Linked DNA regions of Homo sapiens: region 2 is linked to region 1. The links are contacts of gene promoters, found by promoter capture Hi-C in blood cells and fetal thymus (Javierre and others, 2016). All regions are on one chromosome and are shown on one strand. The core of a region is centred on a gene start or on the middle of the fragment in contact, and the rest is flanking DNA. Distances in the headings are between cores, read along the strand shown.

Evidence for each region. The method cuts DNA at HindIII sites, captures the fragments that hold promoters and counts their contacts. A CHiCAGO score of 5 or more calls a contact.
Region 2: a contact is called between the fragment with the promoter of HMGN3-AS1 here and the fragment with the promoter of HTR1B in region 1, in 1 of 17 cell types (endothelial precursors). The highest score is 6.1, in endothelial precursors.

The regions. Positions count from the first base shown.
Region 1 is chr6:77,459,806-77,466,874 of GRCh38, forward strand. It overlaps HTR1B (5-hydroxytryptamine receptor 1B), which reads right to left and starts at 3,686. Exons shown (of 1, transcript NM_000863.3): 1 at 1,119-3,686. The coding sequence starts at 3,598. The coding sequence ends at 2,426. The region is part of intron 5 of LOC105377864; the gene reads left to right. RefSeq lists a silencer at 2,552-2,696 and enhancers at 6,416-6,465, 6,676-6,735. The HindIII fragment of the contact is 3,027 bases long and covers 1,044-4,070 here.
Region 2 is chr6:79,229,352-79,236,898 of GRCh38, forward strand. It overlaps HMGN3-AS1 (HMGN3 antisense RNA 1), which reads left to right and starts at 4,323. Exons shown (of 2, transcript NR_040671.1): 1 at 4,323-4,576; 2 at 4,711-7,449. It overlaps HMGN3 (high mobility group nucleosomal binding domain 3), which reads right to left and starts at 5,331. Exons shown (of 7, transcript NM_001201363.2): 1 at 5,195-5,331. The coding sequence starts at 5,209. RefSeq lists enhancers at 351-851, 3,869-4,659, 4,660-5,449 and a silencer at 4,607-4,656. The HindIII fragment of the contact is 3,424 bases long and covers 4,027-7,450 here.

The DNA of each region.
Region 1 (7,069 bases), core at 2,436-4,935:
CAAGCTTCTATTTCATACAATATGCCCCAAATCCAGGCAATACAGCCAAATAGTCAAGCAATAATTTAGGTGGTTAATCTACAAAATGGCAAACAACCCATTCGACTAAACTGATTGTGTTTTGTTAATGTGAGGACACCATCATTGCAGGTACCCTATAAAGAAATCATTTGAAAGTGGCTATTTGTTTCAATTAATGTTTCCCCCTAAGGCTCTTAGAAGTTGACTTAATTGCCTCTTAGGACCAAAGAAAATACAACTGTATAAACAGAAGACCACAGTATTAATAACATAAAAACAAACACCACGCTCTATGCACATTCCTCCATAGGAGAAATATCACAAAAAGCAAACAAAGAAACTTGGGATCCAGCAGAAGTATAGGCAAATCTAATGCCTAAAATTTTCTCTCACACCAGTGACAGGTATAAATATTGATCAAAACTCCCCTTTTTAGTTAGCTTATGTGTGAATCTTTGAATAGTATATTTTCAAGAGTGATTACTCAAGGTGAAGGTCTGCACAGTAGGCAAGCAGTGTACTTCAGCTCAATGTATTTATTGTCTGACAAACAGGACTGGGGAGTTTCAAGCAAGGAGTGAATCCATTTCACAAAGACAACTTGCTTCTGCAGACAAAAGGTATCAACTGCAGAATGCCCTCTGAGGAAAGGAGTGTGAATTTTCTTTGGCATGTTAAATGCTGTACATATACATTTTTTTCCGTGCAGATAATCCCTCAGGGCTACTTCTTATTAAAATATACATTTTTTTCATATTTTATTTCATGACTTTATCCTGTATTAGGGAGCTCTCAGAGGAAATTTGAAATAACTAAGTATTCTTGAAATTTGAAAAGACTGATAAATTTAAAGTATTCCAGATATTATATTAATTGAGATATCAGGTTGGTAACAAATTTACAAAGGTCAAAAGCTTGCCAGTTTCCTGATTGTTAGTAAGTCTGAGGTTTGGTTCTGCAATTTTTTCTTTTTTAAACAAACAAAAAACAAGACAAAAACAGGCTCAATTTTAGTTTCTCTAAGCTTTTCTAAAGTTCTTATATGTCATTTTCTAGCAATCTTTTCTCCTGCCCAAACTTCAATAACAACAACAACAAAAAAGAAACAAGTTTATTTTCTTTTCAATATCGTTTTTAGGGCCCTTAACTGTATTTTTAAGGTTTCTGGAGAAGGAAGATAGTTCTCTTGGTTTCTTTATATGTTAGCACACAAGGAATCACAGATGGGAAGGAGAGTGCAAATGACTATCAGATAAAAGTTTCATGCATTTTAAGATTTTTTTACAAGTCAAAATATACATCCTCCTATTGCCCCCACCCCATTCCTCAATTGTGTAAGAACTATCCCCATGTCATCAGTCTCCTTCACATCTCACTAAATTGGATAAGAAATAAAGACACTTTTCTTGTTAAGAAACAGTATATTTCCAATACTAATCGGTTTTACCAATTGCATTAGTAAGAAATATAGCAGCAGTGTGGGCTGAGTCACCCATCATACCCTTCATTTATGGGGATTTAAATGTGTAAAGTGACAGGTACATGAAATTAAGAGAAAAAATAAAGCAGTCTGCAGACTTCGGCACTAGCACACATAATGGTTTGTTTGTTAGAGTTGTGGCTTGACAATCGCTAAACAGGAATTACAAAATTGTAAATCTGCAGAAAACAAACAATCATAGGTGTTGATTCTCAGTTTAACACTCCTCATCTCCCATTCCCACCCACCCACCCCCATATAGTTTCAAGTATAATAAAAATAGAGATCTCAGCATCAGAATTTTGCTGTTAACTCTTCAAGGTTTCTCTGCGCCATCCAAGCCACACATAGGGTTTGAAGCACCAAATCCACAAGTTTCTCCAACCAAGTTTAAATAGACAAAAAGTGAAGACTGAATGATGCCAAAGTAACTGTTCTTAAATTAAGCTGTAACACAAAGTTCTCCCCCCAAAAACACAGGGCATTAAGCGTCTAGTTCAAGTACTGCCAGGCTGTATGTAGATCTGTCTCAGACAGGCTTCAGACAACAATTACAAGTACACTGCTTCTAGTGGGCATTATCCACGATACCAAAGCAGGGCAGGGATTCCCTTCCATTATCAATTTTTAAAAGTTGCAACCCCCTTTGGGATTGGCTGCCGCAGGGTCAGTGCTGAGCCCGGGGCTTGAGGGGAGGAAGTGAGCCTCCTCCTGGGCAGGGAAGCTCTACATTTAGTTTCAACACTTCTCCTTTCAGAGCTCTCTCTCAGGACTATTCTGGCTTCTCAGGATCCATTGCCCTTGCCCAGGAGAGAGAGCCTCGCTGGGACCCAGAAACCGCGAAAGAAGATTCGACCTACCTGTGGAACCAGACACAACTTGGTCCCCAAAGGTCGCTTAGGCGACCCCACTGCAAACGGCAAGTCAACTTGTGCACTTAAAACGTATCAGTTTATGGAATGCTTGTTTAAAGTCCTCATTGGACATGGTATAGATTATGGGGTTGATGAGGGAGTTGAGATAGCCCAGCCATGTGAAGAAGTCAAAGATGGCTAGGTGGAACCAGCAGGCATCTTTGCAGATAGGCATCACTAGGGAGATGATGAAGAAGGGTAGCCAACACACAATAAAGGCTCCCAAAATGATCCCTAGGGTCTTGGTGGCTTTGCGCTCCCTAGCGGCCATGAGTTTCTTCTTTTCCAGCAGGGCGTCGGAGACTCGCACTTTGACTTGGTTCACATACACAGGAGATCCGGATTCGCTGGGCACGTCGGGAACCCGCGAGTTAATAGAGGTGACCGAGGACGTGGACCCGGGGGAGTCGGTTATCAGCTGGGCTCGGGTCAAGCGCTTGCCGGTCCTGTTGGGCGTCTGTTTCAAAATCCGGGAGCGGGCTTCTACGTAGATGCGGCCATAGAGGGCGATGAGGAGCAGGGTGGGGAAGTAGAAAGCACCCACCGTGGAGTAGACCGTGTAGAGGATGTGGTCGGTGTTCACCACGCATTCCGACACCTCCTCTTCGGCCTTAGCCTGACGCCAGAAGAAGGGCGGCAGCGAGATAGAGATGGAGAAGACCCACACCAGCGCGATCATGACCGCCGCCCTCTTGGGAGTCCTTTTAGCTGAGTACTCCACGGCGTCCGTGATGGCCCAGTAGCGGTCCAGGGCGATGACACAGAGGTGCAGGATGGAGGCAGTGCAACAAGTGATGTCCGACGACAGCCAGAAGTCACAGACCACCTGGCCCAGTGTCCAGCGGCCGGTGACAGTGTACATGGTGCTGATGGGCATCACCAGGATGGACACAAGCAGGTCGGTGACCGCCAGAGAGGCGATCAGGTAGTTAGCCGGGGTGTGCAGTTTCCGGGTCCGGTACACTGTGGCAATCACAAAGGCATTGGAGAGCGTGGTGGCCAAGGTGATGAGCGCCAATAGCATAACCAGCAGTACTTTCCAGGGTAGGGAGATGGAGTCCTGGTAAATGTAGTCCTTGGCGCTGCAGTTTTGGGAGGGAGCAGAGGATAAGTTGGCTTGAGGAACCCAGGTCTCGGAGCCCGCGGGCGGCGGTGGAGCGCACTGAGCACCCGGTTCCTCCATGGCTCTCCTCGCCCCAGCTCCGGAGCGCAGCTCTTGGGCATGGAGCGGACGAAGGAGAGGGCGGAAGGACCGTGGCGATCGCAGGTTTGTCCCCAGTTGATAGTTCCGTGAGTTCCTCAATTATTCCTCCGCCCAGGTTCACAGCTGAAACTAGAGGTCATGGGTGCGGCAGCCAAGGCAGGCGGGCGCCTCCCCTGCACTTCCAGAGCGCCTAGCTAAGCCGCCGCGTCTGTGGTTGTTCCTCTCCACACCGGGTCTTAGACCTGGGTTGCTAAGAGCTGGCCCACCGAGCCCTGCTCCGCTCCAGCTCCCTGGAGGCGTCTAGTGCAGGAGGGTGAAGTACTGCTTGAGGAGAAGGCTTTGACCAAATGGGATCTCTTACCCCAGTTGCTTGAGGCTGAGCGTCTCCTAACCTGGACGCTTTTGGATCTGCAGACTTTGCCCACAGGAGTTTCCTAGGTGTAGAGACCAAAGCTTGCAGGCCAGCGAGAGGTCCCGAGATCTTGCATTCCCACCCCTCGCCCCAAGCTGGGGCACTTTTGGGGGGCTGCAGCGGCCGCCAGAGCTGGGTGGGGTGAAGTCTAGGAGCAGCGCTGCGCCGCGCCTCGCGCCGGAGCTCTGCCCTCCCTCTCTTTTCACTCTCTGGCCACTCGGACGAGCTGCCCCGCGGAGACGGAGCCATAAAAGGGGGGACACGGGGGCTGGAGTTGCGGCTGCTCGGGCCGCGCCGCCGCCACCGCCACCCTGGTCCCACGGGAGCCACTCGGAGCCATGCCACTGGGTGCGCGGGTCTGGAGGACCTGGCGCGGCACACTGGGAAGGGGCAGGTGTCTGGGGGAGCTGGAGGGACGCGGCGTGCACCAGCCCGGGAGAAGCGTGCGAGCTACGGAGCAGATGGGCTCTTTATATAGAGTCCAGGTCCGGTCCGCCAGAGCAGTGCAACTCGTGCGGCGCGGCGGGTGCGGACGCCCGCTCCCCATCACCTTCCCTTTTTCTCTCTCCCTCCCTCTTTTCCCCCCGCCCTGTTCCTTTCCTGGCCAAGGAAGCTCCCGCCGGGTCCTACCGCCCTATCTCCCCGCTTCCCACCCTGGGCCATCCTCCCAGCCCTGACAACCTGGAGCTGCATTTCTGGTCAGGGGAAGAAGGCGTCCTGTTCTCGCCTCTACGGACATCAGAGCTTGCTGCGCTGACCTCCAGTGAGACCCATGTCCTTAGCCATGGTCACAGGTTTAGTCCAGCAGTCTGGCCCTAGGCTCCTGCCTACCACTCCCACCCTAGGAGGCCAGTGTTAGGCGGGGAAGCCCTGGTCTCTGACCTCTCCGCTCTAAAATCATATCCAGCCCTGATGGCCACACCCAGGTTAGGAGGCACCAGTAATATCGCTGTAGAGGGCCCAATGTTTGCATTTTGTACTTTGCCGTCCTTAACTCTTGATACAATAAAAACTATTTTTTCATCTAGTTTTAGAAATTTGTGTTTTTCACTCAACTATGAGTCAACAGGGAAAAAGACAAGCTATCTGCGAAAATGTAAAAGTTATCACAAACAGAAGCCAACTGTATGTGAAATTAAACCTTCTGCTCCACCATCCTCTTCCAGCTGCTCAGTGCTTCAGTGCCTCTGGAAAACAGTTGCCAGTAAGCGTGTTCCTTCCAACAGCCTACCTAGAAAGGAGGTCATCAGAATTCAAGAAAAAAGGGGGATGGTGGGGCGGGGAGGACTGGAACCATCATCAGCACCATCTTGTGTGTCTCCTTTGCCTTCAACTAATATGTGGGAATGTCAGCCATAAGCTGCAGCATGCAATACCAGTACCTAGGTCTCATGACCAGGGACGGATCCCCTGTCCTCAGTTTCTCCTCTGACCTCAACAGAAACAAATGTAGGGTAGAGATGCAAATCAGAAAGTATGAAGAAAAGCTCCAGGAAAGGACAAGGTATTTTCAGCTCGAAGGATTAAATGATCCCCACTACGAATTCCTAGAGCCTAGATCCATGTTTGGCACCTAGAGTGTATCTAATAAAAACTGCATTGTAAATGAATTCATCTGTTTAAGCGCACATATATTTTAAAGAGAATCATTCTGTGTCAGAACCTAAGGCTATCTGATCTGATCCCTCCACCCAGTTTTAGAGGAAGAGTAATTGAGATCCTTTGAAAGAAGAGCTTTTTACCCAAGGCAATAAAGCACAAACCCAAGTTCCCTTAATTCCCGGTTCTCTAAACCAGGCAAGCAGGCAAAAAATAGAGTGCCTACTCTATGCTGAGTATTTTTCTAGGCATCCGAGGTATGGAGGCCAGTGGGAGTAGACTCAGACCCTCTTTTCCAGCAGTTTACATTCTAGAAGAGACAGACAATAACTACATGAACAAGTAAATAATTAATACTTATACTTTTCTGTAGTGTTAAGTGTTTTGAAGAAAAACACACATACACACATGCATGCATTGAGAGTGAGGGTACTCCTTTAACTAAGGTGGCAGCTCTTCAAGGACGTCCTCTAGATGCGGTCTGGGCTGCAGCAGCCACCCTGAGGATAAAAGCACAGCCTTCTCTCTTTTTCTCCTCCAGTCCTAGCACCTAGCATTTTGCCACCAACCTTAAGCCTCATTTTCACCACATTTTAAGGGATCCTTCCCATTCTCCCACCCCATCCACCTAGATAAACAATTATTTTTGTCAACTGCAGCGCTCACTTAGAAACCATAGAAGAGGGAAGCAAAGCCGGCGAGTTTAAACCGCTAGGTGGGGGCATTGGCCAGGACGGATCAAAAGTGTGTGCGATTGCGGGTGTGTCCTGTGGGAGTGCGGGGTGCCAGGAAACAATTTTCCCGTTATCCTAGGAGAACTGGAAACGATTAGAGACAAGTGTTAAAGGGATGGGAAGCGGGGGAAGGCCGACAGGAATGTAACCAGCTCCATGCGACCTTTCCTCTTTTAATTTCTGCTCGGGAGCATGGGACGGAGAAAAAACAAAGCAAAATTTGTTCCCCACACGGTTTTTGGCTTTAGCGGTTTGGGGACCTGTGGCTTTCTCCAGCCATGCCTCCACTGCTTCGCAGAGTCCCAGACTCCCAGAGGAATCCGCCCCTTGTAGGCAGTTTGATTTTACCCTCTTTGGTAAAGAGCTGCTTAAACACACACCGCCATCATATTGACCGGATGTTGGCAGAGTTCAGTGAAGAACCCCATTTCCTTAACCTGACTTCCGCATTTCAAGTATTCCTTTCTCACTTTAAAACACATAAAACATAGGTGTTTGCACAGAGGCGCATGTGTGTGAAACACCCAAGAGAGAAAGAGACCCTGTAAAGTCGCCTGTGCCTGGGTCACCCCTTCGGAGTAGGGGTCGCTGGGTAAGGTCCAAGTGCCAGCTCTGCAGTCCCCAGCGGCGCTAGAAGGAACCTCCAGGCAAGTTTTGGGGGAAATTCACCTGACAGGGGAGGAGCAGAGAGGGAATCAGTAGCGG
Region 2 (7,547 bases), core at 3,073-5,572, 1.8 Mb after region 1:
AGACAACCCAATTAAAAATGGGCAAAATATCTGAATAGACATTTCACATATGATACACATTATGCTAGTAAACACGTGAAAAGATGCTTATTGTCAGTAGTTATTACAGAAATATAAATTAAAATTCATAAGAATCTCTATAAGCAAAAAATCAACAATACCAAGTATGAACAAGTATGTTGAAATTAGAACGCATGCACTTTGGAAAACAGTTTGGAGGTTCCTTAAAACGTTAAACATAGACGGCCGGGCGCCGTGGCTCACACCTGTAATCCCAGCACTTTGGGAGGCCGAGACGGGCGGATCACGAGGTCAGGAGATCAAGACCATCCTGGCTAACACGGTGAAACCCCGTGTATACTAAAAATACAAAAAAATTAGCCGGGCGTAGTGGCGGGCGCCTGTAGTCCCAGCTACTCGGGAGACTGAGGCAGGAGAATGGTGTGAACCCGGGAGGCGGAGCTTGCAGTGAGCTGAGATCGCGCTACTGCCCTCCAGCCTGGGCGACTGAGCCAGACTCCGCCTCCAAAAAAAAAAATGATAAACATAGACTTTCATACCACCTGCCAGTTCTACTCTTAGAAATCTTCCCAAGAGAAATGAAAATATATGTCCATGCAATCACTTATTTACAAATATTCACAGCAGCATTATTGATAATAATCCAAACCTGGAACAATCCAAATGTCCATCACCTTGTGAAAGGATAAACAAAAATGAGTATATCCATACAATGGAACACTACTGGACAATAAAAAAGAATGATGTACTGATATATGCTACAACACAAACTGATCTCAAAAACATCATGCTGAGTGAAAAAATCAGTCACAAAAGACTACATATTGTATCATTTCTTTTAAATAAAATTTCCAGAAAAGGCAAATCTAGATACAGCAAAAGTAGATTAGTGCCTAGGGCTAGGCTGGGAGTGGGGATTGGCTATAAACTCCATGAGGGACCTTTGTGGAATGATGGAAATGTTACAAAACTGGATTATGACAATGGTTGCGCAACTCTATACTTTACTAAAAATCACTGAATTGTATACTTCGAATGGATGAATGGACTTTATAGTAAGTAGATTATACTCAATAAATGTTTTAAAGGAAATTATACTCTCATAACTGAGAGTGCTGAGTGTCTATATCCCTCAGCACTAGCCAGTAGGTTTTTAATCTTTTTTTAAACCAGATTGGTTATTTTAAAAATTACATCTCATTATTCTTAATATTGTACATTTCTTTGATTTCTAGTAAAACCAAACATTTCTGTCTACTTGAGTCTTCATTATTTTCCTATAAAGATATACATCTTTTCCATAAGGAAATGTGAGATGCTATCTTTTTAAAACAGCAAACCTTTTTCAGTGATATGTGGTACAAATATTTTTTCCCAGTTTTTCATAAATTTAAAAATTTTGTTAACAGTTTTTTTTCCCATATTGAAATATTCATTTTCATGTAGCCAAATTTATCTGTGTTTTCATTTACAGTTTCTGTTTTTGGTGTTATGACAAGTAATATTCTTTTCAAAATTAACTATCACAAACCTTGATCATGGTTAGTTAAGCATCCCCTGTGCTAATAAGCCCAATGCTACTGCTACTGGGCCTTCCATTTTAAGGAAACAGATAAAAACCTAATTTTGAGTTTCAAAGCTAGAGGCAGATGGGCTTTCCTTCCTTAAACCTTTAAGTGTCAAGAGACATGACTGCTTACATGCCACATTCATGGAAAATTGCCTCATTAGAGAATTTCTGATGTGATACACTAGACATTTAAAATAGTTCTAGTGATAAGGAACTGGAAAATATTAATAAAAAGAAAGAGGTAAAAATGTGTTTCCTGTCGCTAATCATGCCAGGACTGTGACTCTAGGCCTCGCTGGCTCATGTCTCTTCGTAGAACATCAAATCATCACATAACAACATGACCACTGCGGGCATTTGTGGATGTCTGGCCAGAACAGTCTAGAACTCAATCACTCATTGTCTCACCACTGAGTCCATGAATGTTATCATTTCCCCTGTAATTCCACTCACCCACCATCCATTATCTAAAAAATACAGGAAACTCACTTTTATTTACATCTCACAAACTTAGAGATAATATGCACTGAAGAACTCTTCACTAAGTGCTGTATTACTTCACAAAATACTATGGCATTTATAAAAAACCACTTGGCTTAATGTAGTTATGACTATCACACACAAAGATACACATAAAACTTACAAAGAAATGTCATCAGAACATTTTAATATTAATTCAGATGATATTATAGCCCTGAAGTTGCAAAACTGAGGCCTGGTCATGTTAAGATACAATCAGGAGACACACTTGAATACCTGGTAACAAAAAATGACTCTGACTTCTTTGTATATTTGAGTCCTACCCACACTTTTAAGACCAGCCTAAAGTTAACTTTCCTTATCTGTCCTACTGCTTGTGGGATCTATAACTACACATTCTGGAACACATACACAGTTTTAATGTTATTCAACTGTTTTGTGCTGCTAGTCTTATCACCTCATTGAATTAAACACAAGTTCCAAGAGGGCAAAAACTGTATGTCCCTACAGCATTACAACAGGGCTAGGATTCCAGATGTTTTCATTGACTTTATCTGTACCACTTCTTGCTCTGCAGAACAACTTACTCAGATGTTCATTAAATAACATTTCTTGATTTCTAGGAAAGGTTGATACAGGGGGCTAAGAAGGCAAAAAAGTACTAGGGGGACATTTTAAAAGCTTATTATATTGTAGAGCAGACAATTCTTTAGTCAAGAAAAATATTGTGTAGTATGTAAATGCTTTGGCAGTTACCCCAGCTTTGAAGATCTTGAAGAGCTATGCATGGATTGTCTCCAGTTCTTTTTTGTATCTAAGCAGGCTTTACCTAATGACAGTGGTTCCTCACATAAGTTCCAGTGAACTTCAGGATTCCATGAGGCTGCTCTAAGACTTGACTGATAGATGGATGGCCATGATCGCCGTGTTTAATCTGAGGTTGTTCCTGCCCAGGTACCAACTGAGGTCGTTAGGCTTCAGGTATAAATGGAAAGCCTTCCTATTAATCAAGGAGAGGTTTTCCATCACCGGAGAACACTCTGATGTCCTCAGGAATGACACACAGGTGCCTGTACACAGTTTTGCCCCTAGTCTCAGGACCATTGGCTAGCTTATGCATGGGGGTTCCCTGCCTTCCAGGGAAATAAAACTGTAGCTGTAATTTTACTGTTATTTTAGTTTTTTTTTTTTTTCCTTCCGTCTCCTTGAGAGAGGCAGACAGGGGAAGTAAGAATAATGGTTTCAGCAGCTCTGGCCCTTGAATAAACAGCAAGGAAGGGTTCCATCGTCAGGGTCCATTATACATAAAGTGTGCACACCTAACCTACTGTTTATGTAAACAATGGTTATAATTCCCAGGAAAAAAAGATGGCCTCCAGCTCACTTACTCTGTAACCCGTATCTTGATGATTAGTTCCTTTGTCTCTACTAGAATTTCCAATCCATCATTAACCCTCAGTCAAAATGCTGAAAATGGTGACATCACTTAATATCCTAATTCTAGTAAAACAGGGCTAGAAAATACCTTCATAAAATTAAGTTTAAATAATAAATCTCAAGTATTAGTGCTCTTAATATGCCATCTGTCTTCTTAAACTGGGAGTACCTTTGGATTTCCTTAATTCCTCTTGACCCACCCTTTCGTAAGTGAGTACGAAATGGGTGAGAATAAGACTTTGGCATCTATAGCATCTGATTAAATCTTTACTAGTAGTTATTGGTTGGTGAGATGCAGGACAATTTATGTCTTTAAGTCCCAGCTGAATGGGGGTAACACCGCTCAAGCTGTTTTCAGGATTAAATGAGATAATGCAAGTCAAATTCTGCACAGCGTGAGGGACACAGTATGTGCACAACAAACTCTAAGACTTTTAAACACTTTCAATTATTTTTAAAAAGTGGGGTAGGAGACAAGTTTCTACCCAATTTTTAGTAATAACATATAAGAAGGGGAAAGCTTTTGAATTTTTAAAACTTCAGTATTTTAAAATAATGCAGTCACTCTCACACACAAATTAGTCCATGGTCTTTGATAAAGCAAGACATTAGGTGTAATTTTGCTTCAAATTTAATACCCACACTCGTTGACACTGTTGGAAACACTGAGGCTGGCGGTGGGAGGGTGCAAAGCACTTGCTTAGGAACCAGCTGAGAAATCCTCACTGATTTCTCAGGGAGGAGGAAACCTTTCCCTTCCCTCCCCGGGACAAGTCGAAGCCCCACCCCGAGGGAGATTTGTGTCCCTGAATGTAGTAGTTGGTGTCCGGGGCCTGCGCAGAAGAGGACAGTCCGCAAGGGGCGGAAGACAAGACAAAAATGACTCCAGTTCGCTAGACGCGCAGAGGGGCGGATAGCGCGCGGACCCCGCCTTCCCCAACCGAGTGTGGGTTCCAGTCGCTGGGGAGGACCTGGTGGCCCCCTGACCTTGGACGAGCCATATTGGACGCCCCGGCGCCGTCCCGTCTTCCACGCTGCCAACTCCACCGCTCCCGCCCCGAACTGCGGGTAGGTCCAGGCCGCCAGGCCCCGCCTCGCCGGCCCCAGCCCTGATTGACACTGGAGTTGGTACATACGGGTCTGCAGCGGAGGCGAGCAGGAGGGTGAGCGCTATTTTAAACATGGCTTTCTCTTTCCCTTAGCCTAGGAGCCACCGCAGCGCACCCAGCCCGCGAGTACAGCCGCATGGGAATAATCCCAACATTTGCCTGATTTATTTTCTTCCCTCTCCTTACGCTTGTACTTGTTTTTCTCCTCTCGCTGTTTTCCCTTCACACTAATTCGCAACCTGGCAGTTTGCAAAGAGGAAACTCCCTTTCGGAATGGAAAGCCGCTTTTGCTTCTTGTTGTTGGGGGTGGAAAACATTCCAGCGAGAATGAGTTCAAAAAGAAGGGAAACCGCGTCACTGGAGAGAAAGTAACATTAAGAGATCGATGAGGACGGAGTGGGTAGGGGGGACAGAGAGAGGAACGTCTGCAACAGGCATCTAAAAACAAGCGTGGAGGAGCAAAGATTCCCAATCCCCGGGTTACTACCGCGCGCGTTCTGCGCGAGCCATTGCAATGCCAGCATTTACTGTAAGCAGAATTTGAAGGCTTTTGAAATCTTTTTTTGGTAAGACTTACCTTTCTCTTCGGCATAATGACTATGTCGGTGAAGCAAAAAGTAAAGCAACGGACTGGAACTGCTGGCGCCGCCGCTGGATGCTGCCTCTGCCTCTGCAGCTGCTCACGCGCAGGGCACGACGTAGCCCGGCCTCTTCGACCTGCACCTCCGCGGCTCCCTCTGGGGGCCCTCTGCTCGCCTCCCTGCTGCTCCAATGAGGAGCCCCGCCAGCCGGCCGCGAGGCCCCATTGGCTGAGGCAACGTTCTAAATTCCACGAGGGCACGCCCACCTCCGCGCGCGGTACGCGCTGTTGTAGTTTCCACTTCACCGAAAAAAATCTGCCTGGCGACTGAGCATGCCCAGTTCAACTAGTAGCCTCCAGGCCACACAATCCTGAAGTTTCATTGTTTCGCTGCTCTCTCTTTGAGATTGTAAGAATAAGAACAGTGTGTGTCTTCATAGGAAGGAAAAAGAGTAAGAATGAATACGTAAACTTTATAATGTAAATATATACACAGCAGGTACCTTATTCATTTCCTACCCATAAAGGCTTTTAATGAATGTTACATGGTGGGAATCTGTAAAGCGTGGGAAGGTACTCTGTACTGGAAGAGCGTGGCAACTTCTAAAGGCCTCAGTTTCCCCCCCTAGATATATAGTGACAACAGTCCCTAAAATCACTTAGCTCTAATTTTCTGAAATCTGTGATTATAAATCACTCACTAATTCAGCTAACTTCAAACTAGATGTGAAGACGAATAGGACATGTTTGTTACGGAAATTAGGAAAAGAAAGAACAAGGCAAAAACTGATTATTTTATATTTGAGACATATATTTGAATGACACCCGTCATGTTACACTTTATGCGTAATATTTCTCAAAGTTCTGCAAGGCATAAAATGAGCATTGCAAAAATATTTCTGAATTCATTTTATGAGACCAGATTTACTCTGATACCAAAACCAGTGAAAGACTTCAAAAGAGAGTTACAGACCAATATCACTCATAAACATAGACACAAAAGTCGTGAACAAAATTTTAGTAAATGAAACTCAACAACATTTAAAGGGACAATACATCATGACCTGTGGGGCTTATCTTGGGAATGCAAAGCTGCTTTTTTAATATCTGAGAATCAATCAATGTAATTGGCAGGATTAATAGAATAAAGGGGGAAAAACAATCCTTTCAGCAGATGCAGGAAAAGCGCTAGTGAATGGGTAAGCAAATTGTGATGAGCACATGCAGTGGAATACTATTCAGCAATAAAAAACAATAAAAAATTTTCCTACATGGATGAATATCAAAAACAAAGTGCTGTACGAAAGAAGTCAAATACAAAAGACCACACTGAATGATTGCATTCATATGAAATTATAGAAAAAGCAAAATTGGGCAAAGTTAGTTTCAGAATCATCTTAGCAGGCAAAGCTCACATCATAGGAAAATGTGTTGAAGCCTTACATTACAAATATGGCCAAATCCACTTTGGTAACACAGAGGCTGCAAATATGTATTAAAAATATCATGTATTAAATATGTATTAAAAAAGCAATGAAGTTTAATATTTCACTTTTTCTTTAGTAATTTTCAGAATACATTAATTGATCTAGTACTCTCCAGAGGTGGTTGATTACTTTCTTTTTTGGAACATCTTTATGAACTCATGGATTTTTACATATTTGGTGTGCATCAGTGTATTGCTATCATTATTATTACCTTTTTAATGCTCCTATTACCACATCTTTAGCCAATGCATACCCTTTCAAATTAGTGCTTGTGTCCTTTTGACATGATCTTAATCATTTTTGATAGATTCCCTGTTCTTGGGCATTCAGTGAATGACAATAGTATACTGAAACGAATTAAGATAAAAACCAATTGCTTAGAGCTAGATAAAAATTTACAAGTTAATAATTTTATCATTAAAATAATATTTATAATGAAGATGTCTTTCAAGATATTAATTTGCCAAATACTTGATAGTTAAATAAAGAAAAAGTCAGTGAAAACATTTTTAGTAAGATATGTGTGAGAAGGATACTGAGTAGCACTTGCAATCTGGACTGGATGGCTATTTTTCTTCATGGAGATGGAAAGGTGCCACAACAAAGGTAGTGCTAAGGTGAATATTTCTCCTCTGTGATGAAAAATAACTCACAAAATTGGCTTCTTTGTTAATTTTTTTTCAAAACCAAACACTCAGATCATCAACAGCAAACAAAATTGTGAATGTTTTTACTGCACACAATAAAAATGCTACGATGAAATTGAAGCTTGCTTGTTGGATGAAGAAAGCTGATTGTGAGGACCTCGAGTTCTTGGAATCTTTAGTTCATTTACAAGTTATGAAAATAACAGCTTCGGTTGA